Regions from separate parts of the Homo sapiens genome. Here all the other regions are linked to region 1. Evidence: promoter capture Hi-C in 16 types of primary human blood cells and fetal thymus (Javierre and others, 2016). All regions are on one chromosome and are shown on one strand. The core of a region is centred on a gene start or on the middle of the fragment in contact, and the rest is flanking DNA. Distances in the headings are between cores, read along the strand shown. Region 1 holds the start of SPATA12 (spermatogenesis associated 12). Region 2 has its middle 24 kb from the start of TASOR. Region 3 overlaps ARHGEF3 (Rho guanine nucleotide exchange factor 3). Region 4 overlaps ARHGEF3 (Rho guanine nucleotide exchange factor 3).

Evidence for each region. The method cuts DNA at HindIII sites, captures the fragments that hold promoters and counts their contacts. A CHiCAGO score of 5 or more calls a contact.
Region 2: a fragment that was not itself captured here is called in contact with the fragment with the promoter of SPATA12 in region 1 in 3 of 17 cell types (M2 macrophages, monocytes and M0 macrophages); the score reaches 7.6 in M2 macrophages.
Region 3: a contact is called between a fragment that was not itself captured here and the fragment with the promoter of SPATA12 in region 1, in 1 of 17 cell types (M1 macrophages). The highest score is 5.8, in M1 macrophages.
Region 4: a contact is called between a fragment that was not itself captured here and the fragment with the promoter of SPATA12 in region 1, in 1 of 17 cell types (M1 macrophages). The highest score is 5.1, in M1 macrophages.

The regions. Positions count from the first base shown.
Region 1 is chr3:57,058,543-57,064,745 of GRCh38, reverse strand. SPATA12 (spermatogenesis associated 12) reads right to left here and starts at 4,082. Exons shown (of 2, transcript NM_181727.2): 1 at 3,960-4,082. It also overlaps a transcript of ARHGEF3 not described here. RefSeq lists an enhancer at 176-957. The HindIII fragment of the contact is 10,199 bases long and covers 1-5,299 here.
Region 2 is chr3:56,704,200-56,710,474 of GRCh38, reverse strand. No RefSeq gene overlaps it. Among named protein-coding and RNA genes, the nearest start is that of TASOR, 24 kb to the right of the region's middle. The HindIII fragment of the contact is 3,351 bases long and covers 1,690-5,040 here.
Region 3 is chr3:56,759,815-56,765,958 of GRCh38, reverse strand. The region is part of intron 2 of ARHGEF3 (Rho guanine nucleotide exchange factor 3); the gene reads left to right. Among named protein-coding and RNA genes, the nearest start is that of ARHGEF3, 39 kb to the left of the region's middle. RefSeq lists an enhancer at 2,130-3,007. The HindIII fragment of the contact is 1,158 bases long and covers 1,229-2,386 here.
Region 4 is chr3:56,721,963-56,728,465 of GRCh38, reverse strand. It overlaps ARHGEF3 (Rho guanine nucleotide exchange factor 3), which reads left to right. Exons shown (of 10, transcript NM_019555.3): 10 at 1-1,046. Among named protein-coding and RNA genes, the nearest start is that of TASOR, 42 kb to the right of the region's middle. The HindIII fragment of the contact is 3,083 bases long and covers 3,711-6,503 here.

The sequences.
Region 1 (6,203 bases), core at 2,833-5,332:
CTGAATTTGACTGTTCTAGATACCTCATATAAGTGGAATCATGCCATATTTGTCCTTTTGTGACTGGCTTATTTCACTCAGCATAATGTGCTCAAGGTTCACCCATGTTGTAACATGTGTCAGAATTTCCTTCCTTTGGGCTGGGTATGGTGGCTCATGCCTGTAATCCCAGCACCGAGGAGGCGGATGTTGAGCCCAGGGGTTCAAAACCAGCCTTGGCAACATGGTGATACCCTGTCTACAAAAAATACAGCAATTTGCTGGGCGTGGTGGCATGCACCTGTAATCTCAGCTACTTGGGGGCTGAGATGGGAGGATCACTTGAGTCAGGGAAGTTGAGGCTGCAGTGAGCCGTGATCTTGCCGCTGCATCCCAGCCTGGATAACAGAGGGAAACCCTGTCTCCAAAAAAAGAAAAAAAAAGAAAGAAAAAAAAAAGAAAGAATTTCCTTCTTGGTTTTTGGTTTTCTGTTTTGTTTTTTGAGACGGGGCCTCACTCTGTCACTGATTGCTGCAGTGGCACAATCTCAGCTCACTGCAACCTCTACCCCCCAGGCTCAAGCAATCCTCTGACCTCAGCTTCCGGGTTAGCTGGGACTACAGGCATGCACCACTATGCCCAATTAATTTTTTTGTATTTTTGGTAGAGACAGGGTTTTGCCATGTTGCCCAGGCTGGTCTCGAGCCCCTGAGCTCAGGCAGTCCCCCTCCCTGGGCCTCCCAAAGTGCTGGGATTACAGGCGTGAGCCAGCACAGCTGGCATGGAATTTCCCTCCTTTTTAAGGCAGAATATTATTCAATTCTATGCATTTGCCACATTTTGTTCTACCATTCATCTGTCATGGACACTGAGTTGCTTCCACCTTTTGTCTATTGTGAATGATGCTGCTATCCCATTCTCTTTTGAGCCCCTCATTTCAGGCAGGCTTGGCTTCCACTCCCCTCTCCCCAGATATCTCTTACCAAGGTCTACAGTGAGTGCCTGGTTGCTCATCCCAATGGCCTGTTCTCTGTTGCCATCCTTCCTGACTACCAGCAGCGTGTGATGGAGTTGGTCACTTTCTCTTCCTCGAAGCCTTGTCTCACCTGGCTTCTAGGATGCCCGACTCTCCTGATCCTCTTCCCACATCTCTGTTAAGGAGCACCCCAACCTCCTGGTTGCTCAGGCCCAAAGCCTGGGGCGTCATCTTTGACTTTTGTATCTCTCTTCTCTTCACTTGTCAAAAGACTCTACTTGTAGAGTGGCCACTGCTCCCCTCCCGCTCCTACCACCCTCCAGGTCATTCTCCCCTCTCACCTGAATGACTGCGGCCTCCAAGCCTCTGCCTTTACCTCCTTTCAGCTTGTTCTCAACTCAGAGTCAGAGGGAACCTTCTGAAGGGTTGGCTACTTCTCTGCTCAAAGCCCTCAAATAGCTCTCATTTCACTGCAACAAAGCCAAAGCCTTTAGGGTGGCTGGCTGCAAGGCCCCATGTGATCTGGCTGCATTTCCTCTCTGACTCCTCTCTTAGTTTGCCCTTCCCCCTCATAACCGCACTCTAGCCACATCACCTCCATGCTGTTCCCTGCGTGGGCACCTCAGGGCCTTTGCACCTGCTATTCCCGCTGCCCAAAATGCACCTCTCCCAATATCTGCAGAGCTTGGTCCCTCATTTCCTTCAGCCTTCCCTGGTCATCGTGTCTAAACCGTTACCACTGCATCCCAACTTCCCCTTTGCCTTCATTGCTTTTTCTCCTTACACTATCGTTATCCAATATAAGGTGTATTTTGCTTATTTATCTTGTCATCTGCCTCCCCCACTAGAATGTAAATTCCATGAGGGCAGGGATTTTTCTTCTATTGTGTTCCCTGTCATGTCCCCAGTGCCTTGCCTGGTACAGACAATAATTTGTTGAACCCGTAAAGAAAAGTTTGGTAAACAGATTAAAAGCCATTTGATTCTTCTATTATGATATAATTCTTGCCTATATTTTTCTTACCTGTGAATTATTACATATGTGTATGTATGTGTGTGTGCATGTTTGTTGTGTGTGTGTGTGTGTGCATGTGTGTAGACAGAGAAACAGCGAGTCCTGTCATTCCCACCAGATATTCCTGCTTGTTAAACAGCTACATAGTGTTTTGCTGAGTGGCTAGAGCAGCTTTATTTAACCTTGTTTTGTTCAGTACTACTGGGCAGCTTCCAATCTTTTGCTATTGTAGATTATGCAGCATCTGTGCTGGGCACTTGCCCTGCTTCCTTCCCTCTTCTCTGAAAGGCTTCCCCATGCTCCTGAGCACCCCCCGCCCCCGCCGCCGTGCTCCTGAGCCTAGCCTGAGCCCGAGTGGGGGCTGTGGTCCTGGCTGGGCCTATCATGGTTCCCCTCCCCTCGGCTGTGGTAGCCGGTCTGGAGCTAGACACAAGCCACCCTTGCCAGGCTGTGGGCTTCCTCAGGGTCATCCTAACCCACTCAGAAGTGGCAGAGAAGGTGCTTGAAGGCACTCACCCAGCGCTAGAGCAGTGAGGACAGGCCCAGAGTGTGGAGCTGCGAGGGGAGGGTTGGGCACATTGCCTTTGGATCTAGTCACATGACTGAGCTGCTCCAGGGATCTTCCTACAAATCCCCCTTCTCACCCATCTAGATGGAGTTGGATTTCTCACTGCTAGCAGTGAGTCTAGACAGATCCAATCCAGTGGAGCATCCCTGCCCCACTCTCTTTTTTTACTTGATCCTTAGTCCAGAGCAAGGAAAGATGTGGAAACCCTCCCAAAGGCATTATTCAGGGCAGAAAATGCTTGTAGGCAGAGCAGCACCTTGTTTTTGTCACAACCGGAGAAACAATTTAAATCTGAACCTATGCGGGCTCAGATACTGATGCTGCCATCTGAGAAGGAGGACCTCTCTCACCTCAGGTTCTTTGTCTGTAAAATGGGGATGAAAATAATTATACCACACCTCAGGACTAAATGAGTTAATAAAAATTCTTAGAGTGGTGAGTAACACAGGATGAGAGACTGCTCACTGAGAGTTAGCTGTGGTGGCTGCCAGAATCCTAAAAGTGTAACAGGAGTTAAACATAGAGGTATCATATAGTCCAGCAATTCCAAATCTGGGTATATACCCAAAGAAATGAAAGCAGAGATCCAAACAGATACTTGCATTCCCATGTTCCCAGCAGCGTTATTCACAATAGCCAAAAGGTAAAAATAATACAAATGTCTATTGACAGATGAATGGATAAACAAAATGTGGTATGTACATACAATGGAATATTATTTAGCCTTAAAAAGGAAGGAATTTCTGGTTGAGTGAGATGGCTCACACCTGTAATGCTGGCACTTTGGGAGGCCAAGATAGGAGGATCTCTTGAGCCCAGGAGTTTGAGGCTGCAGTGAGTTATGATCGTGCCACTGTACTCCTGCCTGGATGACAGGGCCAGACCCCATTGCAAAAAAAAAAATAATAATAAATAAAGGAATTTTTGACACATGCTACAACATGCTGATCCATGAAAGTATTATGCTACATGAGAAAAGTCAGTCACAAAAGGACACTTACAGGGGGTACCTGGAATAGCAAGTTTAGAGAGAGAAGTATTAATACAGTAGGGGCTGGGAGAGGGGCAGGTGCAGGAGGAGTTACCGCTGAATGGGTACACAGTTTCTGTTTAGAATGACAACAAAGTTCTGGAAATGGATAATGGTAAGAGTTGTACAATATGGTGAATGTGCTAGATGTCACTGAACTGTACACTTAAAAATGGTTAAAGTGGTATGTTTTATATTATATTTTACCACAATAAAAAAGAGTATAAGAGGAGTTGGACTCTCCTGGACTTTTTCTTTATAGATTGAACTTATGTCAAAATGTAGCACAGTGAAAAAACAGGCACAGGCCAAAAAAGAAGTGGTGGTGGTGTGTGCCCATGTGTGTGTGTGTGTTTCGGGGTGGGGGTGGGGCGGCAGGTAAACTACTCACAAGACACCAGAGGCTCCTTTTGAGGTCTGATACTGCAGGCTGGGATCTGACGCTGCAGGATCAGGAAGAGTGGGGGAGATGAGGGGAAGGTGAGCCTGCACAAAGAATTTTCTCAGTGACTGTGGGCAGGGCAGTCAGGACCCTGGGTCACATGGGCCCAGCCCGGGACCAGAGCCTTTGTGAGTCACAGCTCAACTCCCAGCAAACAAAGGGATATGCCAGGGAGGGGCTGAGTTGTGACTCAGAGGCTGCTGCTGCTGTGAGCTTCCTCCAGGAACCCCATCCCTTCCAGTCCCTGATTCTGACTCCTACTGTGGGGGTGGGGACAGGTGTACCCACTTCCTGGGCAGGTTCTTGGAAGGGCTCTCCTGCAGAACCTAGACTTTTTTGCAGCTCCTTTTTGATAACCCGAGTAGCAGCAGCTATACCATTTAAGTGCTTGCTGCATACGGGCCCTGGGCTAAGTTCCTTTTTTTTTTTTTTTTGAGACAGAATCTCAGCTCTGTCGCCCAGGCTGGAGTGCCGTGGCACAATCACGGCTCCCTGCAGCCTTGACCTCCCAGGCTCAAGAGATCCTCCCACAGGGACTGTAGGTACATGTCACACACCCAGCTAATTTTAAAATTTTTTATAGAGATGGGGTCTCGCTATGTTGTCCAGTCAGCTCTTGAACTCCTAGGCTCAAGTGATCCTCCCGCCTTGGCCTCCCAAAGTGCTGGGATTACAGGTGTGAGCCACCATGCCTTGTCCCTCACTTCATCTATTTATTTTTATTTTTATTTTTATTTTTGAGATAGAGTTTCACTCTTGTTGCCCAGGCTGGAGTGCAATGGCGTGATCTCCGCTGACTGCAACCTCTGCTTCCCAGGTTCAAGCGATTCTCCTGCCTCAGCCTCCCGAGTAGCTGGGATTACAGGCATGTGCCACCATGCCTGGCTACTTTTGTATTTTTAGTAGAGATGGGGTTTCTCCATGTTTGTCAGGCTGGTCTTGAACTCTGGACCTTAGGTGATCTGCCCAACTTGGCCTCCCAAAGTGCTGTGATTACAGGCGTGAGCCACCATACCCAGCCCCTCTTCGTCTTTTTAAAGCCTCATTGTCACCCCATCAGGCAGTCATTTCAGTCCTACTTTGCAGAAGAGGAAATGTGCTTATGGAGGGAAGCAACTTGCCTGAGGCTATGTGGGTGGCAGATAGCAGAGCCAGATTTGAACCTATCACTGATTAAGGAGCCTGGACTTGTAATCATGCTGCTCACCACCCTCCCTCCCCCCACCCCCAACTCATACACACACGGGGAAGAACAGACTCCAAAATGTGACTTATCTTTAGGCCAAGCTTGTCTAACATGTGGCCCAATACAAATTCATAAACTTTTAAAAAACATTATGAGTTTTTTTTTTAGTTCATCAGCTATTGTTAGTGTTAGTGTATTTTATGTGTGGCCCAAGACAATTCTTCTTCCAGTGTGTCCCAGAGAAGCCAAAAAATTGGACACCCTTGCTCTAGGCTTAAAGACAAGGCTTAAAATTTTTTCCCTGTGCTTATGAAAAAATTTAGAAAATACAAGTAATGAATATATTTTATAGTAAAAAAAGGCATAGTTAAGTATGATTGCATGTCAGCATTTCTTTTTTTTATTATTATTATACTTTAAGTTTTAGGGTACATGTGCACAACGTGCAGGTTTGTTACATATCTATACATGTGCCATGTTGGCGTGCTGCACCCATTAACTCATCATTTACATTAGGTATATCTCCTAATGCTATCCCTCCCCCCTCCCCCCACCCCACAACAGTCCCTGGTGTGTGATGTTCCCCTTCTTACGTCCATGTGTTCTCATTGTTCAATTCCCACCTATGAGTGAGAACATGCGGTGTTTGGTTTCTTGTCCTTGCGATAGTTTGCTGAGAATGATAGTTTCCAGCTTCATCCATGTCCCTACAAAGGACATGAACTCATCATTTTTTATGGCTGCATAGTATTCCATGGTGTATATGTGCCACATTTTCTTAATCCAGTCTATCATTGTTGGACATTGGGTTGGTTCCAAGTCTTTGCTATTGTGAATAGTGCCGCAATAAACATACGTGTGCATGTGTCTTTATAGCAGCATGATTTATAATCCTTTGGGTATATACCCAGTAGTGGGATGGCTGGGTCAAATGGTATTTCTAGTTCTAGATCCCTGAGGAATCGCTACACCGACTTCCACAATGGTTGAACTAGTTTACAGTCCCA
Region 2 (6,275 bases), core at 2,116-4,615, 350 kb after region 1:
GTCAGTATTCTGCTTGTGATGCTCTACTGTAGTTCTGAAAAATGGTTACCACTGGGGGGAAGAAGGTAAAGGGTTCACAGGATCTCTTTGTATTATTTATTACAACTTTGCAGTTATCTCAATTAAAATGTCAGTGAAAAGATGACCCAGGTACAATGTGGAAAAGGAATGGCAAATACTGGAACCATGCCTGGCTAATTTCTTGGTGTTTTTTTGTTTGTTTGTTTTTGTTTTTGTTTTTTTTGAGACAGAGTCTCACTCTGTCGCCTAGGCTGGAGTGCAATGGTGTGATCTCGGCTCACTGCAACCTCTGCCTCCCAGGTTCAAGTGATTCTCCTGCCTCAGCCTCCCAAGCAGCTGGGATTACAGGCACCCACCATCACGCCCAGCTAATTTTTGTATTTTTATAGAGACAGGGTTTCACCATGTTGGCCAGGCTGGTCTTGAACTCCTGACCTCAGGTGATCCCCCCACCTCGGCCTCCTAAAGTGCTGAGATTACAGGTGTGAGCCACCGAGCCCAGCCATTTGTTTGCTTTTTCAGACAGGGTCTCACTATATTGTCCAGGCTGGTCTCCAACTCCTTTCTCAGCCTCCCAAAAAGCTAGGATTACAGGTGTGAGCCACCACACCTGGCCTTGATTTTCTGTCTACCTTTTATATTAATTAGAGAAGTACTAAAATTTCCAACTGTAAGTTTGGATTTGTCTATTTCTCCTTTAAATTCTATCAGTTTTGGGATATGTATTTTGAAGATTTGTTATTGGATACCAACACATTCAGGACTGTTTTATCTTCTTGATGAAATTACCCCTTCATGGTTATGAAATGTTTCTCCCTTAGCTCTAGTAATACTCCTCATTATAAAGTCTCTTTATATTGGCATAACCACTCTAGCTTTCTTTTGACTTGTAGCATATATGGTATATATTTTGTCATCTTATATATTTTAATCTGTGTGTGTGTGTGTGTGTGTGTGTGTGTATACTTTTTTTTTTGAGACAGAGTCTCACTCTATCACCCCAGCTGGAGTGCAATGGCCCAATCTCAGCTCACTGCAACTTCCACCTCCTGGGTTCAAGCGATTCTCCTGCCTCAGCCTCCCAAATAACTGGGATTACAGGCACCTGCCACCATGCTCAGCTAATTTTTTGTATTTTTAGTAGAGATGGGGTTTTACCATGTTGGCCAGGCTGGTCTCGAACTCCCGACCTCAAGTGATCTGCCTGCCTTGGCCTCCCAAAGTGCTGGGATTACAGGCTTGAGCCACCACGCCCGGACTAATATATATTTAAATAGATTTATTGTGGACAGCATATATATGAGTCTTGCTTTTTTTTTTTTTTTTTTTTTTTTTTTGCGACAGAGTCTTGCTCTGTCGCCAGGCTGGAGTGTAGTGGCATGATCTTGGTTCACTGCAACCTCTGACTCCCTGGCTCAAGAGATTCTCCTGCCTCAGCCTCCGAGTTGCTGGGATTACAGGCACATGCCACCAGGCCCAGCTAATTTTTGTATTTTTAGTAGAGACAGGGTTTCACCGTGTTGGCCAGGATGGTCTCAGTCTCCTGACCTTGTGATCCACCCACCTTAGCCTCCCAAAGTGCTGGGATTACAGGCATGAGCCACCACGCCCAGCCTCTTGCTTTTTTTTTTTCTAATCTAGCCTGACAGTCTCTTTCAATTGGAAGCTTTATACCCTTTATGTTTAATGTAATTAATAATATAATTCATTTTAAGTCTGCCATCTTGTTAGTTGTTTTCTGTATGTTCCATTTGTTTTAGATTCCACTTTCTCTCTTTACCAACTTTTTTTGGATTAATTACTTTTTTTTTTTTTTTTTTGAGACAAAGTCTCGTTCTGTCACCCAGGCTGGAGTGCAGTGGCAAGGGAACCTCTGCCTCCCGGGTTCAAGCAATTCTCATGCCTCTGCCTCCCAAGTAGCTGGGATTACAGGCACGTGCCACCACGCCCGGCTATTTTTTATATTTTTAGTAGAGACAGGGTTTCGCCATGTTGCCCAGCTGGTCTCGAACTCCTGACCTCAAGTGATCTGCCCGCCTCGGCCTCCCAAAGTGCTGGGATTACAGGCGTGAGCCACAGCACCTGACCAGATTAAATATTTTCTAATACTGTATTTGTCTCCCCTTTAGTAGTTATTCTCTTTGGTCTTTTTTGGTTTTTTGTTTGTTTGTTTAGTGTTTGTTCTTTAAATTATCACCATCTACCTTCAAATAATATCATACCGGCCACGCGCGGTAGTTTATGCCTGTGATGCCAGCACTTTGGGAGGCCAAGGCGGGTGGATCATGAGGTCCAGAGTTTAAGAGCAACCTGGACAATATGGTGAAACCCCGTCTCTTCTAAAAATACAAACATTAGCCGGAAGTGGTGGCAGGCACCTGTAATCCCAGCTACTCCGGAGGCTGAGGCAGGGAACTGCTTGAACCCAGGAGGCAGGGAACTGCTTGAACCCAGGAGGCAGAGGTTGCAGTGAGCTGAGATCGCGCCACTGCACTCCAGCCTGGGCAACCGAGTGAGACTCCGTCTCAAAAATAATAATAATAATAATAATAGTATCATACCTTTCATGTATAACGTAGAATCTTACACCAATATACTTCCATTTCCTTCACCCCCTTCTCTGTGGTAGTGTTGTTACACATGTGTCTTCTCATGTTTTAAGCTCCAAATTTTATTATTATTTTAACATAATAGAGATAGATAGACATATTTATCTTTTAAAGAAATAAAACAATTAGAAAAAATTGTTATATCTGTGCCAATATTTACCTTTTCTTTTTTTTTTTTTTTTTTGAGATGGAGTTTCACTCTTGTTGCCCAAGCCGAAGTGCAATGGCGCCATCTCGGCTCACTGCAACCTCCACCTCACAGGTTCAAGTGATTCTCCTGCCTCAGCTTCCCGAGTAGCTGGGATTACTGGCATGTGCCACCACGCCCGGCTAATTTTGTATTTTTAGTAGAGACAGGGTTTCTCCATGTTGGTCAGGCTGGTCTCAAACTCCTGACCTCAGGTGATCCACCCACCTTGGCCTCCCAAAGTGCTGGGATTACAGGTATGAGCCACCGCCCCCGGCTATATTTACCTTTCTAGTACTCTTATTTCATTTGTATAGAAAAAAGTTTCCATTTGGTATTATTTTATTTCAGCCTGAAGAACTTTCTTTGAACATTTTTTATATTGGAGATATATACTAACAATAAACTTCTCGGCTTTTGTTTGAAAAATCTTTAATCTTGTTTTAATTTTTAAACAGTATTTTCACTGAAAATAGAATTTTAATCTACAATATTTTTTTCTCTGAGCACTTTAAAGATATTACTTCATTGTCTTCTGGTTTGCAGTTTCTACCAGAAGCCTGTGAATAATTCTTATCTTTGTTCTTCTGTATGTAATGTGTATTTGGGGTTGAGAGGAGCCTGCATTTAAGATTGTATCTTAATCATTGGTTTTTTAGTGATTTTAATTATGACATGCCTTGGTGAGGTTTGTATGTGTGAGAATGTTTATCCTACTTGGCATTCAATGAATGTCTTGGGTTTCTGTGTCTGTGATTTCCATAAAATTTGAAAACTATAAGCCAATATTTATTAAAATAGTTTTTTTGTAGTATCCTTCCTTATGAGACTCCAATTATGAATATGTTAGACCACTCCATATTTTTCCAGAAGTCAGTGAGGCTCTGTTCATTTGGTTAAAAAATATTTTTAACATTTGTGCTTCATTTTTAAAAACAGATTCTATTGCCAGGTTCTCAAGTTTACTATTTATGTTTTAGCAGTTTCTAATCTTAATACCTCCAGAGAAACTTCCATTTTCATTCTGATACTATATTTTAATCTTTGGATATTCCATGTGTTACTCTTTTGTAGTTTCATTTCTTTGCTTATGATGTTCATATTTTCACTTAACTGTGTTTACACTGTAATAATAGTTATTTTAATATTTCTATCTGCTAGTTCCAGCATCCGTATCATTTTTGTCTGTTTTCATTGATTGATTTTCTCTTGGTTATAAGCTAGCACTTTCTGGCTTCTTGGCATGTTTAGTAATATTTTATTGGATGCTGGACATTGTAAGCATCTGAATTTTGTTGCTGTTGTTGTTATTTTAAGGATATTAGGCCAGTTTACTTTTGTTGAGCACCTTGATAAAAAAGAAGAAGAATATTAGTCCAGCCGTGGTGGTTTATGCCTATAATCCCAGCACTTTGGGAGGCCAGGAGGATCACTTGAGCACAGGAGGTCGAGGCTGCAGTGGGCCATGATTGCACCACCATACTCCAGTGGTGCAATCATAGCTGGAAACAAAGGAAGAGAAGAGAAGAGAGGAAGAGAAGATCAGGCTTTGTTATGGCAGGCAGGTAAGCTAATTATAGATTATTTTGATACCTTCTTTTTTTTTTTTTTTTTTTTTTGAGGCAGAGTCTCACTCTGTCAGCCAGGCTGGAGTGCAGTGGCACGATCTTGGCTCACTGCAACTTCTGTCTCCCGGGCTCAAGCAATTCTCCTGCCTCAGCCTCCCGAATAACTGGGATTACTGGCATGTGCCACTACACCCAGCTAATTTTTGTATTTTTAGTAGAGACAGGGTTTCACCATGTTGGTCAGGCTGGTCTTGAACTCCTAACCTCAGGTAATCCGCCTGCCTCGGCCTCCCAAAGTGCTGGGATTACAGGCGTGAGCCACCACACCCAGCCCAGTTTGATACTTTTAAGGCCTATTTTAATTTTTGCTATGGCAGATATAGATTAGCCTTTACTCCAGGATTATTCCGTCTAAGCATGATCCCCCTGAATATTTGTCACATGGCTCAGTTAATTATTGAAGACTTTCCATTGGTTATTCAGGACCTTGGCTAATTGAAGTTCTCACTTCTCCCCACTCAGTTTGAACACTGAGTGTAATTCAGTTTACAATTCCAAGTCTTTATTTTCTCAGCCTCATGAAGGTTTTACTCCACACATGCATAGTCAAGGGGACTTCCTATGCGGTCTTCTGAAACTCTTTTTCTACAAAGCTTCCAATTCTCTAGAATTTTGCCTGGCAACTTTCAGTTACCTTCTGCTCCCCAAATCTCGGAGAGATTGCTCAGCTTCACTTGCATTCCCCTCCCCGCATCCACAACCTGGAAATTGCCTTCAGACAAAATTCCGGTGTGGTTTTAGGGTTTACCTTTTTGTTTCCTTTCTTTTAGGGATTACAATCCACACTGCCTATTGTCTGATTTCTGAATATAGTTGTTTAGAGTATTTTGGCCAGTTTTCTAGTTGTTTATGGGGGGATCAGTATAATTGGAAGCAGGAGTCTCAAAGTCATTTTTTAAATTTCTGTTTTAAAATGTAACAGCTCTGTGTACATACAATGGAATATTATTCGGCCTTAAAAAGAAATCCTGACATATGATAAAACATAGATGAACCTTGAGGATGTTATGCTAAGTGAAACAAGCCAATCACAAAAAGACAAATACTATATGATTCCATTTCTATGAGGTACTTAGAGTAGTCAAATTTATAAAGACAGGAAGTAGAGTGATGGTTAGCAAGTACTGCGGGGAGAGGGAAATGGCGAGCTGTTCTTTAATTGGTATAGAGTTTCAGTTTTGCAATATGAAAAGGGGATAGGAGATTATTTGTACAACAGTGTGAATATGCTTAACACTATTGGACTGTATGCTTTTTTCTCCCATATATATTCTGCTTATGTAGACTGTACACTTAAAATGGTTGAGGCCAGGTGCAGTGCCTCACGCCTGTAATTCCAGCACTTTGGGAGGCCAAGGTGGACATATCACCTGAGCTCAGGAGTTTGAGACCAGCCTGGCCAACATGGTGAACATGCCTCTGTAAAAAATACAAAAATTAGCCAGCCAGAGAATCACTTGAACCCGGGAGGCAGAGGTTGCAGTGAGCCTAGACTGCACCACTGCACTCCAGCCTAGGAGCCTGGGCGACAGAGTGAGACTCCATCTGAAAAAAAAAAAAAAAAAAAAAAAAAAAAGGTTGAGATGGTAAATTTTCTGTTATATGTATTTTACAATTTTTTTAAAAAACAGCTAACAGTGACTGGGCGCGGTGGCTCACAGCTGTAATCCCAGCACTTTGGGAGGCCGAGGTGGGCGGATCACGAGGTCAGGAGATCGAGAACATCCTGGCTAACACGATGAAACCCCATCTCTACTAAAAATACAAAAAATTAGCCAGGTGTGGTGGCGGGTGCCTGTAGTCCCAGCTACTCGGGAGGCTGAGGCAGGA
Region 3 (6,144 bases), core at 558-3,057, 300 kb after region 1:
TTTTGTTTATTTTGTGTTCTCCTCCTTTTTTCCCCAGTATGTAAGAATTACAAATGAATAGAAAATAAATGAGTTGGAACTATTGATTTTTTCATTATATATTTCTGTTATACTTGAATTTTTTAATATGTATTACCTTTGCAACCAAATAAAAATGAATAAGATTAGAAAATCTTCTATGATAAAATATACTACAGAGAGAGTTTAGCAATGGCCTGAGGGGTCGTCAAGGAAGGCTGCTTAGCAAGGGTGGAGGGATTTGGGTTGGGCCTGGAATGGCTCACAGATGATAAGGATGAAAGGGAGGAAGCGTTTCAGGCTTCAGAAGGGAATATGGGATGGCTGATGCCATCTAGATATAAGAAATAATAAGTAAGAAATTACCCAAGCATATGTGCTGATTTCCATGTCTGGCAACCATGATTACCTTCTCCAAGGACCTCAAACTTTGTCCCTTGGTCCAAGGTCATAAATTTTCTATAACTAACTTATTTGGCTGACATGGAGATGAGCTTGGGGGTGGAAGGCACATGTGTGTTAGGGAAAGCAACCAGAAACCAGACTGTCTTGTAATGGGTATCCAAGGGAGAGGATATAATCATGGGTTCTTAGTTTCTCTTTCTGGTTGGGCCAGTAAAGCCCCTTCCTTATCCCTCTTTTCCGCTTATCACTGGAAACAGAAACTAAAAACCATGGCTTCAGGCTGCTAAAAGCCTAAAACAAAACAAACAGAACAACAACAAAATAAGGCAAGTTGGACAAGCTTGGAGAGTATAGCTGACAAGTTATCTGTAGTCCATCTCAAGAGGAACTCCTGATTCTCTGCTGTTCTTTACTATTCCTGGAGTGGTAGAATATTACTGTTTATTGTTCCTGGAAGCCACTGTAAATAGTTGATATTGGGCCGGGTGCGGTGGCTCATGCCTGTAATCCTAGCACTTTGGGAGGCCGAGACAGGCGGATTGCCTGAGCTCAGGAGTTCAAGACCAGTCTGGGCAAGATGGTGAAACCCCGTCTCTACTAAAATACAAAATATCAGCTAGGCTTGGTGGCAGGCGCCTGTAATCCCAGCTACTCAGGAGGCTGAGGCACGAGAATTGCTCGAACCCGGGAGGCGGAGGCTGCAGTGAGCTGAGATCGTGCCACTTCATTCCAGCCTGGGCAACAAAGCGAAACTCTGTCTCAAAAAAAAAAAAAAAAAATTTGTTGACTATTGTAATTTAAAGCTTGTCATTTTTTATTTAGTAATAACACTCATTAGTGTAGTATCTATGATGAACCAGGTTCTGCACAAAGTACCTTATGTTCATGGCCTCATATCGTCTTCTCCAAAACTCTGCAAGATAGGATTCATCACCACTTATAGGGAGAGATCTGAAAGTTTAAAATTGTACCCAAGGTCACACAGCTGGTAAGTGCCAGAGCTGGGATTCCGTAGGGTGTTCAGAGTGCCTCTCCTGCCGTAGGCTTATCACAAAAAGTCAAAGTTTGGTCATAATAAAGCCTGAAGTTTGGCAGGATTTAAAAATAGTCACCAGACTTTTGAGTTGGAGCATCCCACCTCACTGCTGTTCACCTTCTGTGGCAGGGAGAGTCATCATTTCCATTTCAGCTTGTGGAATATCTTGTCATTAACATTCTCATGCAAAAGCCATTTTATGGTGCCCAATGAAGATGGTTGAGCTACTGCCCCAAGCCTCTGGAAGCCTTCCTAATTTTGGACTTGCACTATGCAAATTGTATAATATTTTCTCTACACCTAAGCCAAATATTTTCTTCAGCTTTTCATTCATTCTACTCAGAATATCTCCAAGCTACAGAAGGGTTTCTTGTTGTACTGGGTCTTTGAGGTTTGACATTTATTGATTATGAATTAATTGGGTGCCCTTTTACCATGGTTTTAATGTGCATCAATCTGAATCAGATTGTAAATATGTGGTTTTATGTTTATTGCACCATTTCTAACTCAGTGTTCATTGTCTTTCATGTTCGTCAACTGACCGTGTTTCTTCTTAGTTAATATTTCTTCATTAAAGAAAGTCTGGAAAATAAATGTAGAGAATTAAAAGATGAAAATAAAAATCAGCCAGGTGCAGTGGCTCACACCTGTAATTCCATCACTTTGTGAGGCTGAAACAAGAGGATTGCTTGAGGCCAGGAGTTCAAGACTAGCCTGGGCAATATAGTAAGGCCCTGTCCCTACAAAAAAAAATAAAATAAAATCAAAAAATTAAAAATAAATAAAATTTTAAAAAGAAAACAAAAATTATCCGTAGTCCCACCATCCAGGGGTGTAAACCTTGTTAACATTTTGTTGTATTTCAAATTGGGATCTTTCTTCTCTCACTTAACTCTGCATGTGAGGCTCTCTCCTTATCATTAAGCTTTTCTCAAAAAGAATGTTTCTTAACAACTGTTTAAGGTTCCCTTTTATTGTTGCAGAGTAATTTGTTTAATCCCTATTGTAGAACATTTTAGGCTGTTTCCAGATCTTTTATAAACAACAGTGTCCTGCTGAGGGCTTTTCTTTCCCTAGGAGTTATCCTAATGGAAGTCCCTCTAGGAGCCATTTGGCCCAGGTAGTTCAGAAAGATGTGTCTGCTGTTTGCTAATTAATGAAAGCACGTATAAACAAGCACTAATAGTGGCAGTGTGGTCTGTGGTATGACAATGATAGGTAACTACCATTCCTGCTGACCGAGTGCCAGGGACTTGGCCAAGCCTCTTGTGTACTTTATCTTATCCAATCCTCACTACAACTTTGTGAGGTACTTATTATTATGCACCTTTTAGAGATGAGGAAACTGAGACCCAGAGAGATGAAAGGTCTCTCAGCCATTGAATCAACTTGAAGCCATGCCTGTTTTACTCCAAAGCCTATGTTCTTCACCCAAATCCATGTTTTGGAGTCAAACAATTGCACTCAGTTCCTATTCCAACACTTAACTTGTGCCACTCACTTACCACTCTGCTACTCAAATTACTCATCCTCTCCTAGGATTAGCATGAGGGTCAAATGTGACAGAGACCACACAGCTGGGAAGTGTTACTTCTCACTTAACATTAATTTCTGTAATGGAGCCTCATAGGAGACTCCTCCAGGATGCTGTTGGTTAACATTTTCCTGTCCTGGCCATTATTGCTGTACATTTTGGTTTAACCCACCGCAGTGGCAACATAGGAGAGTTTTTTCCTCTTACAGTCCCACCCCAACCTCCAATCCCTGATAATAAACCATCTGCTACAAAATAGCAATATGGTTAGCATGGTAAGTGTGGAGAATTTCCTTGGCTTGAATACTTTATTGGAGCATGTTATCTGTGGCTGTGGAAAATGGTTTTTGGAAAAGGGCAAGGGAGGACTCCGCTGAACAGGCGGCATTAACAAATCAGATCTGTCCCATCATGTCTACCTGCTGGGTTTACATTTCCTCTGACACGTGTAAAGCGCACATGCCACCCCCGTCCCCCAACCCCCGGCAGACAGTCTGTTTTGCATCTGCAGCATCTTTTCCACATATCCAGCTTGGGCATAAACTTGAGCACCATTTCCTCAATCTGCATTATCTCTGTTTTATGGTCATTGTTGTTTTAGCTGCCAGCAATTATGAGATTGCAGTTTTTGACTCATTTGCTAGGCCAGATTCCCTCATGGAAACTCTTGCTTGTCCTGGAATATTTTTCACTCCGGTCCCAGCATCCCCACACCCAGGGAGATCTATGTATGTGCTTCTGTTTTTATGTGGTCCTGCCCAAGGCCAGGTCCCTCACTTTGAGGTGGGCCTCTTCTAGTTACCGTGGACTGGCGTTTCTCACCCCAGGAACATTTGGCAATGTCTGGAGGTGTTTTGGTTGTCATAACTGGGCTGGCTGTGCTGCTGGCATCTGGTGGTTAGAGGGCAAAGATGATGCGAAATATCCTACAATGCACAGGAGAGCCTCCCACAATAAAGAATCTCTAGTCCAAAATGTTGTGGTGGCCAGGTTGAGAAACTTTCTACAGGCCAAGAAGTAAACTACAGTTCATTTATTTGGGCACATGTACCCCGCTACACTATGAATCTTATCCTAGGGCAATTAGGGTAGGATATTGGTTAAATATTGGGGCAGGGAGGTTGGCCTGAAATAGACCAGACTTGGATTGTCATTCTGACAGTCACCTTACCACCGGGTTTTAAATAATAAAGCACCATTCATTAGCTGTGTGACCTTCAGCAAAGTGTCACCTTCTCTGAGCCTCAAGTTTCCTTGTCTGTAAAGGGGACAGAATCCTTACCTCTCAGATAAGCAGGGCTCTAAAGCTCCCCTCACAGTGCCCAGCACATAGCAAGCATAACATTTAATCATTAAGCAAAAGTTGTTGAGGTCTTACTATATCAGTTGCTGATGAATCCATCAGTGAATAGAGGAGGTAGATATGCCTGCCTTCAAGGAGTTTACCTTCTATTGGAAGGAAATAGACATGAAAGAAACAAACAAACCTATAAATACAGCACATGTTGAATATAAAAAAAAAAGAGAAGGGCAGAGGGTGTGTAGATGGACAGTGGCAGGGATGCTGATAGGGATGTGGCTGTTCTTCTCTCTAAAGAGGCATCCTCTTGGAGTTTTTTTCTTCTAGTAGTAGTTGCCTGTTCCTCCCTCAACTCTAGTTCTCTCATGTAGTTTTTCCCAGTGGTACTGATGATGGGTTCAGGGGTAGCTCATGGTATGTGGTCAGTGCTGTTATGAACACCTGCCCATCACCCATGTGCTGTCCCCAGACCATACCAGCTGCTGCCCCTTTTCCCCGGGGCCAGACGGCTGCTGACCACTCACTGGTTTGGTATTCTTTTATTATTATTCTTTTTTATAGAGACAGGGTCTTGCTACATTGCCCAGGCTGGTTTCAAACTCCTGGCCTCAGGTAATCCTCCCATCTCAGCCTGTCAAATTGCTAGACTTACAGGTGTCAGTAACCTCACCTGGACAAATGGTTGGCATTCTTTATTCCTCCCTTGGGATTCTTCTTTCAACATCCAGTCCCTTCTGAGTGGAGTAAGAAAAAATGTTTCTTTTAATCCAGCCTAATTAAAGGTGTAAATTTGAAATTTGATTGGTCAGATATCAGCCATTATTCCTAAAACTGAGCAAATGTATTCTCTCTCTTTCCTTAAGTAGATTTATATTCCTAGAAGGCAGGAGCTGGATCCCATCTCATTGAAACTTCCCCAAAATGCATGTCTTGCATGTAAACAGTAGATGCAGTCCCCAAAGTAGAAAGAGCTCAGGCTCTGTTGGAACCAGATCTGGTTTTGAATCTTAGCCTCCCTCAACCTCAGTTTCCTCCTCAGTAGAATGGGAATAAACCCCCAACTTGCAGGGTGGTTGTGAGAATCAGAGAGAATATATCAGAAGTGCTACGTGTAGGCAAAGCGCATAAAAGACCCTCTGTGATATCCCCCATAGTACCCTGAGCCCAGCAATCACTAGGGAAACGCAAAGCAAGAAATTCATAGTGGTAGAGCTCACCTAGTACAGCTTACTGCTCTCTTTTTTCCCATGCCGCAGCAGAAGACAATCTCCAACTCTCTGGGAAATTTTTAAATAAATTAATTAAAATATGCTCAATCTTACCTTCAAAACACAAAACTGAAATTAAGGTATAGTTGTTTAACCTATCAGATTGATAATAATACCTTGTTGATGAGAGTGTGAGCAAAGTGTACTATTATGTACCTATCTGAGGAATATAAAGTTGAATAGCCTATTTGGAGGTCAACTTAGTGGTACATCTCAAACATTAAAATGTTCATACTTCTTAGACCAAGGAATTCCACTTAAGGAATTCCTGCCTTTTAGAAGTATCAGCACAAATACACAAAGCATGTTCACTGAGGCACTTTTTGTAATAGCCAGACACTGGAAACAATTTTAATGTCCATCAGTTGTGGATTGATTAAATCAATAGGTCTGTCCAGACTATGGGAGGGATACTAATTCTGCAGCCATTAAAAAGAATACGTGAATTTGAGGTAATGGAAATGTTTTGGAACTAAATAGAGATGGTAGTTGTACAACCTTGTGAATATACTAAATAGCACTGAATTGTTCACTAAAAAATGGTTAATTGTAGGCTGGGCACAGTGGCTCATGCCTGTAATCC
Region 4 (6,503 bases), core at 4,003-6,502, 340 kb after region 1:
GCCCTGTATTCATTGTGTTTCATCTGCCTAGGCCTACTCATTATTTTAGAGAATGAATGAAGCAACAAGGAAGAGAGACCATGACTCTATCGATGACACTGTTTATAGAAACACAGGAGAGGAAGAATTTGGAATGAAAAGCACTTCGTCAGAACCTTCTGTGGGAGCCATTGAGAGAAAAGCATGGTCCAGTGCCTTCTGAGAAAGGCCAGAGCTTTGGGCTTTCCTGCTCTGCTTTTGGGTCGTCAATTTGCCATCTCTGGTTCTGTGCTATAATCAGAATTGTAATTATGTTCTCCAGAGGCCAATTTCATTAACTCTGATTAATTAGAATCAGCTAGCCAGATTAGTAACCTCTTTGTCCAGCCTTGATTTACAGTGCAGGGTAAAGTGCAGACCTTAAAAACAGCTAAGTACCTAGAAGAGCTCCCTGCAAGTGTAAATATTAAGGATGACCTGTGCAAAATTATACCCACACCAGCACTAGTGGTAATTATTCTAAATTATTGCCAAAAAGTTTTTTTTAATCTGTCTTTCAAGTTTACAGAAAAGAAAGCAGTAAATGCATTGATGTCATTTTATTATGTACATATATCATGTGCATTCAAGCTGTGTGACAAGATATATCAATATAAAAACAAGGTATATACTTTATTATTTTTTGAAAACAAGGATATTGTGATCAATTTTACCCTGTAAAACATATTTCTGTATTTATAGGTCTTAAACATGATGAATTTTTTCTATTACAAGTTTATTTAAAACTGCTTTCTCAAGTCGTTATTGATACAGCAAGTGAACCTGCTGCAGACAGAAGCAGAGGAAAGCCAAGAACAGCCTTTATTGGTGAAGAAAAGAATGAATGATTCTTTGTAGGCGCCATCAGCCACTTTTAGAAGCCATCAGCCAGTGTGTTGGGAAAAGAGGTTTGTCAAGTGTTGGCCTATGGGAAGGTGGTCAATGAATGTTTTGATGAAATGAATGTTTTTGTATAATGGCCTTAAACTTTTCTGGAAGTATTTCAAATAAATTACATTATTAAGTCATCCTCCATGTGTACAGTGTTTGTCCTACAAACAAAATACAGGTTTCAGCTGTGTTCCTGGGGAGGTTCTTTCTGAAATTTTTGTTTGTGGTTCCTGAATACAAACTTTAAAATAGGATGCAGATTGATACAAATGCTTTTATTTGATCTATCAAAACTTTCACAGAACTCATTTTTTTTTTCTTTCTTTCTTTTGAAACAGGATCTCACTCTGTCACCCAGGCTGGAGTGTGGTGGTGTGATCATAGCTCACTGCAGCCTCAAATTCCTGGGCTTATGCAATCCTCCTGCCTCAGCCTCCCAAGTAACTGGGATTACAGGTACACACCACCACATCTGGCTAATTTTTAAATTTTTTGTAAAGATTGAAGTTTCACTATGCTGCCTAGGCTGGTCCTGAACTCCTGGCCTCAAGTGATCCTTCTGCCACAACCTCCTAAAGTGTTGGGATTACAGGCGTAAGCCTCTGAGTCTGTCCAAGAACTCATAATTCTAAAATCTGTTTTCTCAAGCATTCTCTATTCATTCACTTATTTATGTGTTCACTTTTAATAACTCTATCTGGAATCCATACTATGTATAAAGTCAAGTGGTAAGTCATAGTTGTTATAGAAAAGAAATGTTGAATCTCACTGCTAATATAGGTAACTGTTGAGGAACTTGAGGCTAAATAAAAGAAGGCAAATTTCACTTTGAAATTCTTACTGGAATTTCAGTCTACTTTAATTAAAATGATTAGTACTCTTTCTAGTCTGAGCACAGTGGCTATACCTCTAATCCTAGCAGTTTGGGAGGCCAAGGCAGGTGAATTACTTGAGCCCAGGAGTTCAAGACCAGCCTAGGCAACATGGCAAAACCTCATCTCTACAAAAGCACAAAAATTAGCCAGGCTTGATGGCATGTGCCTATAGTCCCAGCTACTCAGGAGGCTGAGTCGGGAGGATCCCTTGAGCCTAGGAGGCAGAGGTTGCAGTGAGCTGTGATCACACCATTGCACTCCAGCCTGGGTGACAGAGTGAGAACCTATCTCAAAAAAGAAAAAAAAGATTAGTACTCTGTCCCACAATGAGTGAGGTTTTTTAGATGAAAAGGCTAAACATTTTTAAGCTGTTAGTAGCCAATTCTCAATAGCACATTGGCCCAATAAGGCTGGTAGTTAGTCTTATCTTTACAATAAGCTCTCACCATTTTCTTTTTTTTCTTTTTCTTTTTTTTTTTTTTTTTTTTTTGAGACAGTCTCGCTCTGTCACCCAGGCTGGAGTGCAGTGGTGCGATCTCAGCTCACTGCAAGCTCCACCTCCTGGGTTCATGCCATCCTTCTGCCTCAGCCTCCCAGGTAGCTGGGACTACAGGCGCACGCTGCCACGCCCGGCTAATTTTTTGTATTTTTAGTAGAGACGGGGTTTCACCGTGTTAGCCAGGATGGTCTCGATCTCCTGACCTTGTGATCTGCCTGCCTCGGCCTCCCAAAGTGCTGGGATTACAGGCCTGAGCCACCACGCCCGGCCAGCTCTCACCATTTTCTTTAACATACTGTTAATTCCCAAATTTGGCAAGATATTCACATAAATAAATATAAGTCCAAATTTTTTCCCAAATGCAAAGTCGCTTCTCCTAATTTTTTTCTTCCTCCTCCTCCTCATCTTTTTTGTCCGTCCTCTTTTCTCACTGCTGCTTTGGCTATTCCCTCTGTTTTTCACTCCTATAATTGTACTGACTGTCAATGCTAAAGGATGTATCTTACAGTATATTAGAAGATGTTTGTACTGACATTTTGTGGGTTAGTACAAATGAGTGAGGGCTAAATGGTTTTTCTTCAGTCAATTTTCAAGATGTTATTTCACATACAACTAGATGTAATCCTTGCAGTCTAAATGAAAACTCATAAGCAATGAACAGAGCCAGAACTAGCAATTTTCTGTAAAATTAGAGCATGGTTTCAGCTTCTGGGTTGTGGTCACCGCCACTGACTGCTTTAGTTTCCATTCCCAGCACAGTCTGCGGCAGCTAAGAATGCACAACTCTTCATAACCACAGCCCTGTTTCAACAAAGACTGTGTGGCTGCAGGAAACTGCAACCCACCATCTTGGTGAAGAGCCTGTTCAACTTTCCATTTACATTCTGTCCATGTCCGTTTTTTACTAATTCTCCCAAAGCCTGAGGACTCTCAAAGATTTGGCAAAGAAACTGTCTGGCCAATCAGTTTCACTCACCTGGTTCCCCTTGGCATTGAGGAGAGAAGACACTGAATACCCCCCCTTATTGATGCAGCTGATTCAATTAATTCACACTAGCTTGTTTATTGACAGAATTCTAGAACTACACTATTGGAAGGGAAGAGGGTTACCCAAGCCCAAACCTACCAGTAAAAATCTGACAATCATCAAAATTTAAAACCTTGTCCGCATGAGCACACAGTGAGAAAAGGTGACCGTATTCACTGTACCTGAAGGGTATTGAGGGAAACAAGTTGGAAAAAAAAATGCTCATGACATCATATCTCCTTTCTCCAGGCTTGGTTCATATATCAGTCAGCTGCACAGACCTACCTAGTCAAAGCAGTTTTCAGTTGACGTGAGGGAATAGCAAGGAATTAGAAGTCATGCACTGTATCTTTAAGAGCTAATCACTTAGCCTAGGAAACTGGACATGCATTCCAAAGCTTGTCCACATGCAAACATACCTAGGTATTAATGAACTGTGCTCTCTCATCTGTGAAAGGTTTGAAAATGACATCCTACAAGTGTTTTATTCTCTGTTGCCAGGGACACTGGACCCTTCAAGCCCATTTAAATGTGAGACTGTATGTGAAATCACTTTTTAAAAAGATACTAAGAGCTAGTAGTTTTCATTGTTATTTAATAATCACTTTTAAATTTGTACATGTTGCCCAGGCATGGTGCCTTATGCCTGTAATCCCAGCACTTTGGGAGGCCGAAGAGGGCAGATCACTTGAGACCAGGAGTTGAAGATCAGTCTGGCCAACATGGTGAAACCCCGTCTCTATTAAAAATATGAAAAATTAGCTGGGCATGGTGGCAGGCGCCTGTAATCCCAGATACTCAGGAGGCTGAGGCACGAGAATCACTTGAACTTGGGAGGTGGAGGTTGCAGTGAGCACAGATTGCACCACTGCATTCCAGCCTGGGTAACACAGTGAGACTCTGTCTCAAAAAATAAAAAAAAATAAACCGTACATGTGAAATTTCTCAAAAGTGTGGCCTTGGCCTGGGTCTTTTTCATTCGTTGTACTATATACCTGGAGAGACTTTTCAATCCAGATAATTTGGAATTTTTTCTTGTATTTTTTTTTCTTACATATTTTCATTCCCACAATTTTCTATTTTCTCTTTCAGGAATTCCAGAAAGAGAGATGAACCTTCTGGATTTTATGCCTTAACTTCTGGATTGATTTTCAAATAGTCTTAATCTCTTTATTCTTACTTTTTATTTATTTATATTTTGTTCAACTCTCAAGGAGATTTCCTCACCTTTGTCTTCAGATCCTTCTATTAATTTGAGGAGAGGGTTGCCATCAGTTTTTTTTTCTACTATAAGTTTTTCTATCATTCTTTCTATACTTAAAGCACCCTTATTTTTATTTAATGAAGGCAGTGTCTTCTCTGAACTCTCAGAAGATGTCACAGTTCAGTTGAATTTTCCTTCATCTTTCATTGTTTATCTGGGAATAATAATGGTAATTAATAGGATTTGGGGGAGGATTCAATGTAGTAATACATCCAAAGTACTTAGAATGGGCCAGGCATGGTGGCTCATGCCTGTAATCCCACCTGTAATCCCAGCACTTTGGGAGGCTGAGGCGGGCGGATCACGAAGTCAAGAGATCGAGACCATCCTGGCTGACATGGTGAGACTCCATTTCTACTTAAAATACAAAAAATTAGCTGGGTGTGGTGGCGTGCCCATAGTCCCAGCTACTCAGGAGGCTGAGGCAGGAGAATTGCTTGAACCTGGGAGGTGGAGGTTGCAGTGAGCCGAGATCACACCACTGCACTCCGGCCTGGCGACAGAGCGAGACTCCGTCTCAAAAAAAAAAAAAAAAAAAACCTTAGAATGGGGCTATGCCCCGTATTTTTGTTTACTTCTCCAAATCCACTATGCACCCTGATTCACTCTTCTGTGTGTACTTCATCATGGGCTCTCCTGCCTGACGTTTCTGGTTTGGTTTGGCCCAGTGAAAATCCTGTCATTATATCAGTGAGAGGGAGAAGAGTGAGTTTAGAGTATTCATTCCTCCAGCTCCCACCTGGAGGATTTCCTTGGGCTGGTTGCATCTCTTATCGTGAGGTCACAGCTTCTCTCAAGGAGTCCTCTCTGAATTCCTGTAACCCTTCTAGCCTAGTATGGTAACAACCCCACTGTCACTAGCCCCAGGATATTGTATTGTCCCTACACACTGCCCAAACTTTGTGTACTGTCCCTTTATTAAAACCTCCTAATTTGAATATGTGATATTTGAGTATGCTGCTGAGCCCCTGATAGATACTGGTTCCTGATATAGTAAACATATATGTCTACTATTGTCATCATTTATGTTATTTCACCATTTGCTTTCCATTTTCAAATGTTGTGGTCCAAGGATAAACAGATCTTTGGAATCATCAAAGATGGGTTTTGTGTTTCTATTTTTTGTTATCGTGATGGATTGTTTTCTGGGAAGATAAATGAAAGCGTATTTCAAAAACAAAGGCAAAATACTTTTTCAGGCATATGAAAGCTAAAAGAATTCATCACCAGCAGACCTCCACTACAAGAAATGTTAAAAGGACTTTCTTTGAAGAGAAACAGAATGATACCCTGTGGACATATGGATCCAAACAACAGAATGAAGAGCACTAAAAATGCAACTATGTCAGAAAATAGGAGAGGCTTTTCTTACTATTTAAACTTCTTTAAAAGTAATTAGTTCTAGGTCGGTTGTGGTAGCTCATGCCTGTAATCCCAGCACTATGGGAGGATCACTTGAGCCCAAGAGGCAGAGTTTGCAGTTAGCCAAAATCAAGCCACTGCACTGCAGCCTGGGTGACAGAGCAAGACACTGTCTTTAAAAAAAAAAAAAAAAAAAAAAGGCGGCCGCAGTGGCTCATGCCTGTAATCCCAGCACTTTAGGAGGCCAAGTTGGGAGGATCACCTGAGGTCAGGAGTTTAAGACCAGCCTGGCCAACATAGTGAAACCCCGTCTCTACTAAAAATACAAAAATTAGCTAGGTATGATGGTGCATGCCTGTAGTCCCAGCTACTTGGGAGGCTGAAGCAGGAGGATCTCTTGAACCCGGGAGGCGGAGGTTGCAGAGAGCCAAGATTGCACCACTGCACTCCAGCCTGGGCAACAGAGCGAGACTCCATCTCAAAAAAAAAAGAAAAGTAATTAGTTCTAGCCATGATGGAGTAACAGGCACCAGATTTGCCTTTGCAACTGAAATAAAAACAAAAAGA